2 separate regions of the Homo sapiens genome follow, and region 1 is linked to region 2. The links are contacts of gene promoters, found by promoter capture Hi-C in blood cells and fetal thymus (Javierre and others, 2016). All regions are on one chromosome and are shown on one strand. The core of a region is centred on a gene start or on the middle of the fragment in contact, and the rest is flanking DNA. Distances in the headings are between cores, read along the strand shown. Region 1 has its middle 9.5 kb from the start of MYCL. Region 2 holds the start of CAP1 (cyclase associated actin cytoskeleton regulatory protein 1).

Evidence for each region. Contacts are between HindIII fragments. The CHiCAGO score rates a contact against its expected background, and 5 or more counts as called.
Region 1: a fragment that was not itself captured here is called in contact with the fragment with the promoter of CAP1 in region 2 in 3 of 17 cell types (M0 macrophages, M1 macrophages and M2 macrophages); the score reaches 6.8 in M0 macrophages.

What each region holds. Positions count from the first base shown.
Region 1 is chr1:39,908,785-39,914,071 of GRCh38, forward strand. No RefSeq gene overlaps it. Among named protein-coding and RNA genes, the nearest start is that of MYCL, 9.5 kb to the left of the region's middle. The HindIII fragment of the contact is 3,087 bases long and covers 1-2,859 here.
Region 2 is chr1:40,038,236-40,043,370 of GRCh38, forward strand. CAP1 (cyclase associated actin cytoskeleton regulatory protein 1) reads left to right here and starts at 2,494. Exons shown (of 13, transcript NM_006367.4): 1 at 2,494-2,566. LOC105378669 (a long non-coding RNA gene) reads right to left here and starts at 2,211. Exons shown (of 3, transcript XR_001738013.3): 1 at 656-2,211. RefSeq lists enhancers at 1,512-2,145, 2,114-2,183, 2,146-2,780, 2,434-2,633, 2,704-2,793. The HindIII fragment of the contact is 17,502 bases long and covers 1-5,135 here.

The sequences.
Region 1 (5,287 bases), core at 66-2,565, 130 kb before region 2:
TAGCTGGTTTCTGAAGTGAAGGCAGTCTTGTGGAGACTGTGCCATTAACTTGTGAAGTTTGGCCTAACTCTAGATAGTGTCAGAATTGCATTGCAGCATCTTTTTGAATTCTTTGCGCTAAGCCTTTTTATTTATTTATTTATTTATTTTATTTTTATTTTTTTTAGATGGAGTCTCGCTCGTCTCCCAGGCTGGAGTGCAGTGGCGCAATCTTGGCTCACTGCAAGCTCTGCCACCTGGGTTCACGCCATTCTCCTGCCTCAGCCTTCCGAGTAGCTGGGACTACAGGTGCCCATCACCACGCCCGGCTAACTTTTTGTATTTTTAGTAGAGACGGGGTTTCACCATGTTAGCCAGGATGGTCTCGATCTTCTGACCTCGTGATCTGCCTGCCTCAGCCTCCCAAAGTGTTGGGATTACAGGCGTGATCCACTATGCCCTGCTATTTATTTTTTTTAAATTGAGACGGAGTCTTGCTCTGTCACCCAGGCTGGAGTGCAGTGGCACAATCTCAGCTCACTGCAACCTCTACCTCCTGGGTTCAAGCAGTTGTCCCACCTCAGCCTCCCAAGTACCTGGGATTACAGGTGCCCATCATCATGCCTGGCTAATTTTGTTATTTTTAGTAGCGATGGAGTGTCCCCATATTGGGCAGGCTGGTCTTGAACTCCTGACTTCAAGTGATCTGCCTGCCTTGACCTCCCAAAGTGCTGGGATTACAGGCAGGCGCCACCACACCCAGCTGCCCTAAATCTTTTAATATGGAAACCAATTCACTCTGTAATTATTCCTTTGGGAAATTCCTCCCCTCCATTTTTTTTCCCTTCTCCCTCTCTGAAACTCCTGTCTTGTCTTTTCTTTTCTCTCATCTCTACCTTTATGTGTTCTGTTCAACTTCCTAGGAGTCAAACTTCTAATCCTTTTTTTTTTCTAAAATAAAAATAGAGATAGGGTTTCCCTATATTTGCTAGGCTGGTCTCAAACTCCTGAGCTAAGCAATCCACCTGCCTCAGCCTCCCAAAGTGCTGGGATTATAGGTGGATTATTAGTGTGAGCCACCACACCCAGCCAAACGTCCAATCCTTTTATTCATGTTCTCAACTTCCAATCCTTTTCTCAACTTAAACATTTTTTGACTGATATTTTTTAATTTTTAAGACCTCTTTTTCTTGTTGTTCCCTAAATGTTCCCTTTTTGGAGCTTCCTGTTCTTTTTCCATGGACACAATCTTTTTCCCATTTTCCTCTGAGGCTATTAATAATAGTTTTCATACTTATTATAAATTTTGAAAGTCTTTCCTGCTCCCTGTTTTCTCTGACTTCTCCCTTGCTTACTTTGCTCTGTGTGTTTCATTAGAGGCTTTCTCAAACATCCGATAATCCTTGGTATAGATGTTTATGTATATTACAGAGTAGAGCCAGGCATGGTGGTGTGCATATGTAATCCCTTGGGAGACTGAGGCAGGAGGATTGCTTGGGCCCAGGAGTTCAAGATCAGCCTGGGCAATATAGTGAGACCACATGTTAAAGAAAACAAAACAAAACAGTGAGGCATTAAAAGCTGATTGAAAGCTCTATATGTGTGTGTGGGGAGGTATTTGATTACTGAGCTTCACTAAAGGGTTTTAGGCAGGTACCTAGCAGGGGACTCCTCAACTGTCAGTATGAGTACATCTTTCTTTTTCTTTTTTTTCTTTTCTTCTTTTCTTTTCCTTTCTTTTCTTTTCTTTTCTTTTTTCTTCTTTTCTTTTCTCTTCTTTTCTTTTCTGGGACAGAGTTTCACTCTTGTCACCCAGGCTGTAGTGCAATGGTGCAATCTCGGCTCACTGCAACCTCCGCTTTCCGGGTTCAAGCTATTCTCCTGCCTCAGCCTCCCAAGTACCTGGGGATTACAGGCGCCTGCCACCATGCCCAGCTAATTTTTTTTTTTTTTGAGACGGAGTCTTGCTCAGTCGCCCAGGCTGGAGTGCAGTGGCACGATCTTGGCTCACTGCAAGCTCCGCCTCCCAGGGTCACGCCATTCTCCTGCCTCAGCCTCCCAAGTAGCTGGGACTACAGGCGCCTGCCACCATGCCCGGCTAATTTTCTTTTTTTTTTGTATTTTTAGTAGAGACGGGGTTTCACTGTGTTAGCCAGGATGGTCTCAATCTCCTGACCTCGTGATCCACCTGCCTCAGCTTTCCAAAGTGCTGGGATTACAGGTGTGATCCACTGCACCCAGCCGCAGCTAATTTTTTTTATTTTTAGTAGAGACGGGGTTTCACCGTGTTGGCCAGGCTGTTCTCGAACTCCTGACCTCAGGTAATCCACCCACCTCAGCCTCCCAAAGTGCTGGGATTACAGGCATGAGCCACCTACCTTTCTATTTTCACATATAGAAGGCCTCTAATCTACCAGGGCGAGGTTAGAAACCTGGCTGCCAGCCTTCTGGGTACCAAGAGGGGAAAGGAGATGAAGGGATCTATCTTATGGTTCAGCTAATCCCTCCCTGACTTCAGTACAGTCCATCACTCTTGTTCTCAGCTGTGCCTGGTGTTCCCAAATCCACAGCCTCTCAATTCAACCTGTCTCCCGCCAGGTAGGAAGAGGGCAGTCACCTGATTACAGAAGTTGAGGGAGAAAATTTAGGAGTCTAATTCCTTTTACTTTCATCCAATCTTCTTCTTTTCAGCCCCATCCTACCATCCTGCCTTTAGAAATATCCAGTGCCTCCAGTTGATGAGCTGTTCTTGGGTTCTGATGCACTCATGGGCTTGCTCCTTGTTGATACTTCTCCTTCTCCCACTCCCACCATAAGCAGTTAGTTTCTGATTTTTCTGGCCTTTTGCTAAATCAGCCAGCCCTTATCTGTCTGCTTTCAAGCTTCACAAGGTTTGTATATATCTGTCAATTGCTGTTGTCTCCTCCCCCTCATTTTCTTTTTTTAAAAATTGAGGAAAAATTCACATGCCGTAAAATTCAACATTTTAACCATTTAAAGTGTGCAATTCAGGCCAGGTGCAGCGGCTCATGCCTGTAATCCCAACACTTTGGGAGGTCAAGGTGGGCAAATTGCTTGAACCCAGGAGTTCGAGACTAGCATGGGTAACATTTCTACAAAAAAAAGACAAAAATATTAGCTGGCCAGCATGGTTGCTCACACCTGTAATCCCAGCACTCTGGGAGACCAAGGTGGGCGGATCACCTGAGGTCAGGAGTTTGAGACCAGCCTGGTCAACATGACAAAAACCCATCTCTACTAAAAATACAAAAAATTAGCCGGGCATGGTGGCACAGGCCTGTAATCCCAGCTACTCAGGAGGCTGAGGCACGAAAATCGCTTCAACCCAGAAGGCAGAGCTTGCAGTGAGCCAAGATCGCGCCACTGCCCTCCAGCCTGGGCGACAGATCGAGACTCTGACTCAAAAAAAAAAAAAAATGTATTAGCTGGATGTGGTGTTGTGCGTTGCAGTCCCAGCTGCTCACTCAGGGAGCTGAAGCGGGAGGACTGTTCTAGCCCGGGAGGTTGAGGATGCAGTAAGCCATGATTGCAGTGCTGCACTCTAGCCTGAGCAACAGAGTAAGAACTTGTTGCAAAAAAAATAAATAAATAAAAAATAAAAAATAAAGTGTGTGATTCAGTGGTTTTTTTATTTGCCTATTTGTGCCAACATTTGTTATTTTCTTTTTTTTTTCTTTTACGATGTTTCTTTTTTATTTATTTATTTATTTTTTATTGATATTCTTGGGTGTTTCTCGAAGAGGGGGATTTGGCAGGGTCACAGGACAATAGTGGAGGGAAGGTCAGCAGATAAACAAGTGAACAAAGGTCTCTGGTTTTCCTAGGCAGAGGACCCTGCGGCCTTCCGCAGTGTTTGTGTCCCTGGGTACTTGAGATTAGGGAGTGGTGATGACTCTTAAGGAGCATGCTGCCTTCAAGCATCTGTTTAACAAAGCACATCTTGCACCGCCCTTAATCCATTCAACCCTGAGTGGATACAGCACATGTTTCAGAGAGCACAGGGTTGGGGGTAAGGTCACCGATCAACAGGATCCCAAGGCAGAAGAGTTTTTTAGTACAGAACAAAATGAAAAGTCTCCCATGTCTACCTCTTTCTACACAGACACAGCAACCATCCGATTTCTCAATCTTTTCCCCACCTTTCCCCCCTTTCTATTCTACAAAACCGCCATTGTCATCATGGCCCGTTCTCAATGAGCTGTTGGGTACACCTCCCAGACGGGGTGGTGGCCGGGCAGAGGGGCTCCTCACTTCCCAGTAGGCGCGGCCGGGCAGAGGCGCCCCTCACCTCCCGGACGGGGCGGCTGGCCGGGCGGGGGGCTGACCCCCCCACCTCCCTCCCGGACGGGGCGGCTGGCCGGGCGGGGGGCTGACCCTCCCACCTCCTTCCCGGACGAGGTGGCTGCCGGGCGGAGACGCTCCTCACATCCCAGACGGGGTGGCTGCTGGGCGGAGGGGCTCCTCACTTCTCAGACGGGGCGGCTGCTGGGCGGAGGGGCTCCTCACTTCTCAGACGGGGCAGTTGCCAGGCAGAGGGTCTCCTCACTTCTCAGACGGGGCGGCCGGGCAGAGACGCTCCTCACATCCCGGACGGGGCGGCAGGGCAGAGGTGCTCCCCATATCTCAGACGATGGGCGGCCGGGCAGAGACGCTCCTCACTTCCCAGATGTGATGGCGGCCGGGAAGAGGCGCTCCTCACTTCCTAGATGGGATGGCGGTCGGGCAGAGACGCTCCTCACTTTCCAGACTGGGCAGCCAGGCAGAGGGGCTCCTCACATCCCAGACGATGGGCGGCCAGGCGGAGACGCTCCTCACTTCCCAGACGGGGTGGCGGCCGGGCAGAGGCTGCAATCTCGGCACTTTGGGAGGCCAAGGCAGGCTGCTGGGAGGTGGAGGTTGTAGTGAGCGGAGATCACGCCACTGCACTCCAGCCTGGGCACCATTGAGCACTGAGTGAACGAGAGTCCGTCTGCAATCCCGGCACCTCGGGAGGCCGAGGCTGGCGGATCACTCGCGGTTAGGAGCTGCAGACCAGCCCAGCCAACACAGCGAATCCCCGTCTCCACCAAAAAAATACGAAAACCAGTCAGGCGTGGCGGCGTGCGCCTGCAATCGCAGGCACTCGGCAAGCTGAGGCAAGAGAATCAGGCAGGGAGGTTGCAGTGAGCCGAGATGGCAGCAGTACCGTCCAGCTTTGGCTCGGCATCAGAGGGAGACCGTGGAAAGAGAGGGAGTGGGAGACCGTGGGGAGAGGGAGAGGGAGAGGGAGGGGGAGGGGGAGGGAGAG
Region 2 (5,135 bases), core at 1,244-3,743:
GCAGTAACAGGGTCTGACTTGTCCACTGCTGGATCCCTAGTTGTGCTTGGTACAAAGTAGCATAGCAATTATTGAACTCTTCCAATAATTGCTACTATGTAGCTCAATAGTTTTTTTTCAGTGCATAAATACATGTGACAGATATTCTTTTATTTATTTTTTTGAGACAGAGTCTCACTCTGTCGCCAGGCTAGAGTAGAGAAGCACGATCTCAGCTTACTGCAACCTCTGCCTCCCGGGTTCAAGCGATTCTCCTGCCTCAGCCTCCCAAATAGCTGGGACTACAGGCGCATGCCACCACGCCCAGCTAATTTTTGTATTTTTTAGTAGAGACGGGGTTTCACCATATTGGCCAGGCTGGTCTTGATCTCTTGACCTCGTTATCTGCCCGCCTCGGCCTCCCAAAATGCTGGGATTACAGGTGTGAGCCACCGCGCCCAGCCCTTCATGTGACGGATATTCTTAAACTATCTTCCCATCTCCTACTGGAGTTACAAATGCATGGATCTAGACTTCTTAAAAGACTGGACATTCCTTAGGGCAGGGGTTGTAACTTAAGTCGTGTGTGCATTCTTTATAATGAAGCATTTTACAAAGTGGTTTCACATACATTACTGCTTCCGTTTCTCATTACAGCCCCATTAATATTCCCCACCTGATGAGGAAACTTTCTTCATTCTCCTTCCTGCTTCCTCTTCTCTCTCCTCTTCCTCTAGAATGCGTGTATGGTCTATGTTCCTTCTGTCTCTAATCCAGAAAGAGATTTAGAATAACTAAATGCAGAGTCAAAGATTATGTCCAAATAAAGTTAGAGTTTGTGTGTGTGTGAGACAGTGTTTTTAGTTAAATGTCAATATTTAAAATATACTATGACTTTTATACCATATTTTTTCATGTTGTCATGTTCTTTTAAACATGCTGGGAGCCATAAAGTTAGGAAGAGGCCCAGTAACCCGTCCAAAGTAACCTGACCAAAGTCTGACCCCTAGTAGAGGGCCTATGCCAGCACTGGAACCCAGTGTCTCCAGATCCAGAGGCATTCACCACCTCAAATCTGCCTCAAATGTCTGCAGTATGGTCTATCACAGGGGCTAATTAAGCTCATGGGATTTAGAGTCAGACAGATGTGTTTCCTTCAAAGTTTCAACAGTTACTTTCTGACCTTGGCAAGTTATTCAGCTTCCTCATTTGAAAACTAGAGGGCATAATGGTACCTACCACCGAGAGTTGCTATTAGGAGTAAATGAAAATACGCTTGAAGAACTCAGCATGGGCCTGGCAAGTAGTCAGCGTGCAGTAAATGGTAGCTGTTATTTTAAGAACTTTATTTGTTGAATGATTGACTCTGGCACATAACGCCTGCATTCAACTTGAAACACGGAGCTGTCACAGTCGTTCAGCTGAAGGGGCGGGAACTGTGGCACTTGCCAATTTTTTCTAGAAATAAATCTTTGTGGGAGGATAATGACCGGTTGGAGAGTGTGAGTCTTGAGGGAACAAAGATCGGATCTCCCGGCCCAAGGAGTACGGAAGCGAAGCCTCCCCTGCGCGCGGCAGCCACCGTGCGTAACCTCCCCTGAACCGAGTAGCAGCCGCCTGAGCCCACCCAGCCCTGGGCGAGGCTGCCTCAGAAGCCGGATTTCAGCAGAGTGGGTGCAGGATCTGCTTTAATTCTGCTCATCTTATTCTCGGGGACCACACCCTGCGCGCCGGGAGGAAGGGCTCCAAAACCACAGGGCGGAGGCTTCCGCGCGGCCCCAGACTTGACCATCTATGGTCACAGAACACACCGACCAAACAGGAAGTGGGGTGAGAGCGGAGGGTTCCCTACCTTCCCAGCCCCGCGACTGCCAGCCGGGCTGGGGCTGACCCACCGCGCCCTCACTGACCCCCACGCCCTGCGCCCAGTCTCCGCAAGTCCTCCCACAACAATGTCCAGACTAATTGCCTTCCCACGTCACAAACGGGGAAACCGAGGTATGCACGCCCAGAGACAGGCGGAGCGTGGCCTCGATCACCACCGAGAGCTGACGGCCGCCCGGATTCCCGCCCTCAGAGAATCCTGGCCCCCAGTCGTTCCAAGACCCTTTACGGACTGCAGCTTAAAGGAACCGGCCTCTGCCATTGAGACCAAACTGACAGAGGAACTGGTCACTCTTCTGTTCTTTCCAGAGAGGAGCTTAGCCAGGGACTTCTGCCCTTCCTGGGCCCGGGCCTCGGGGGCGATTCCGGGTAGGTAAAGCGGAACGAGGGCGTGGCCTCTCTTGTGAGCCCGCCCTCCCCGTGTCGCTCCCGCCTTGAGGGCGGGGCTCTTTCCCAAGTGCCCTCTGTGAGAGCCGGGCCGCTCTCTCCGGGGCGTGGCGAAGAGGGGCGGAGTCACGAGCGGGGCGGTGAGACTTCCTGCCCAGTCGCGGGCCAGCCTAGCGCTTCAGCCGGCGGCTCATTTCCGGTGGGGGCGCCGCGCCCAGTGAGGGCCCGGAAGTGGGTCGCGCGGAGATTGCTGGGCGGTTCTTGCCGGAAGCGGAGAGCGGCTGATCGCAGTCCGGAGGTGAGGCGGAACTCTGAGGTGAGGGTGTGCAGCTTGGTAGGGATTGGGGTCCCTTCCGGGGCCCATCGGCCCCTGGTGGTGTTAATGGCCCTTCTGGCCTACGCGCGTGTCATGAACCCTGCCGAGAGGGCCGGGGCTGAGGCCCTCAGGCCGACCCGGACTCTTGGGCGCGGTCTCTTGAGGTGGGGCCGGGGTGAGCAGCTGAGTCCGGGTGCCCCGGGGAGGCCCCTCTGCCCGATTTCGCAGCGCTGCCCATCAGCTTCAGCGGAGGCCTGATTCCTGAGGTGCTCTGACTGGAAGGAACCTCCGAGATCGGAGAGTCTTCCCTGTCTCCTGTTGATGCTCCCATTGCACTGATAGGTAAATTGATCCCTAGAGAAGAGGCTAGTCTGAGATATATAGCGAGTGAGGAAAAGAATCGGAATCATGATCCTGGTGCCTTAGATAACCAGCCCCAGTTCTTCCCGTGTTGCTCGGAACCTCTCTAACTTGGGATGGTCTTCCGGTCGGTGTTGCCCCGCAGGCTGCTGCAGGTTAAAGGCCAGCGCTGCGTGGAACTTTTTTTTTTCTCTCCTCCCAAATTGAGCCGTTTGAAATGCCTAGGGAGTTTTTAAAAGAAAGGCGGGCACATCCTTGTATTTACAGGCAGATATCCTCCCTTTCCTCCTCGGCTGCTGCTCTTACTTTGACAAGCCAGGCTAACATTGAAGGTATGTACTTCTGGACCTGAAATCAGACGGCTCAGGTTTGGTCTGGCCTCAGTGCTGAGTGTCTGTGGCCATAGGTGCCTTAAACTTCTTTCAGCCTCCTTTTGTTCATCTTTTAAGTGGAGATCTCTGCTGACCCCACAAGATTAAATTCAGCGTAACAAATTGTGTTTATTCTGTGCCAGCATTTTCCCAGATGCGGGGAATGCAGCTTTAAAACAAAACAATGTAGACCCTGCCCGCGTGGAGCTAGCAGTGTTTGCAGGGATGTTTAAGAAGTAATTATAAATGTTGATGAGTGTTAGGAAAGAACAGGGTGCTCTGAAAGTATGTAACAGGGGGTTCAGGAAAAGCCCTTCTGAAGAAGCAGAGTTTTTAAGATGAATTTTGAAGGATAAATAGGAATGCGTTCGAAGAGTGGAATGAGAACATTTGAGACAGGTTAGCATCAGAACTGTGTCAGTTGAAGCTCTTTGTGGGGCTCTCTCTTCAAGAGAAAATCCGGGGGCATATCAGCACATTTATCATTTACCAGACTTTTATTTAATTTATTTATTTGTATTTTTAGTAGAGATGGGGTTTCGCCGTGAAGGCCAGGCTGCTCTCGAACTCCTAACCTCAGGTGATCCCCCCACCTCGGCCTCCCAAAGTGCTGGGATTACGGGCATGATCCACCGTGCCCGGCCCCACCAGACGTTTATTAAGACCTTAATATGTATGAGGCACATTTTAATGAGATAGCCTTTGTGGCAAAGAATACAGTTCTTCTGGAGTTTACAGTGGGAGAGGAAATAGACAAGTAAATGAGGGATGGCTTACAGTGTCATAGTGCATAGCACAGGGCTACAAGAGCACAGTGGAGAAATACCTGAGCCAGGTGCCCAGGGTTCCAGGAGGAAATGGGAGGCTAACTCTTGAAATATTTATTTAGCTACATAGGGAATCCGGAAAAGGGATTTCCAGGCAGAGACTACTACAGGTGCAAGGACCTGGAGAACCGGACAGCTGAAAGACCATGACGAGTTCAGTGTGACTGGAATTCTAGTAATGGCTGGGGAAGTGGAGGAAGTGAGATGTGGTCAGGTCAGTCATATGTGGAGGACATTGTAAGTCATGCTAAGGAATTTGGATTTTTACCCTGAAAGCTATGGAGATGCTTTGAAGGGTTTTATGCAGGAAAATGATGTCGTCAGATTTATATTTCAGAAAGTTCATTCTGTCAAGTAGGAGGGGACCAGCCCTGTGGGGAAGTAAAACAGTGTTTGGAAGCTCTTGCTGTAGACATGGCCTGAACTAAGACAGTGGAAATGGGAATGGAGAGGAGGCATCAGATGTGAGCAATATTAAGAAGATAGAATCCATAGAATTGGAGGCTGATTATGGGAATGAAGAGGTAAGAATAGCGCGATTGCCTGGCTTTCTGGCTTAGGGAACTGAATGGGTAGTACCATTCAGATAGAGAGTATGAGAGGTAAATTAGGGAAGTGACATGGGAAAAAATGCATTTTGAATGTTTTTAGTTTGAGGTGTTTGTAGCACATCCAGGCAAAGATGTCTAATAAGGTGGGTCAGCTAAAGGAAAGAGCAAGAGTAAAGATACGGAGGCAGGAGAGGGCCTAAATTGTTCAGTGATACTGGGGCCTGGAGTTTTGCAGAAGACCAGACTGCAAAAAAGGTTAGATGTCGGCCAAGTTGTGAAGGGCTTTTTGTTTGTTTGTTTGTTTTGAGACGGAGTCTTGCTCTGTTGCCCAGGCTGGTGTGCAGTGGCACAATCTCGGGTCACTGAAACCTCCACCTCCCAGGTTCAAGGAATTCTCCTGCCTCAGCCTCCTGAGAAACTGGGATTACAGGCGTGCGCCACCACGCCCGGCTAATTTTTG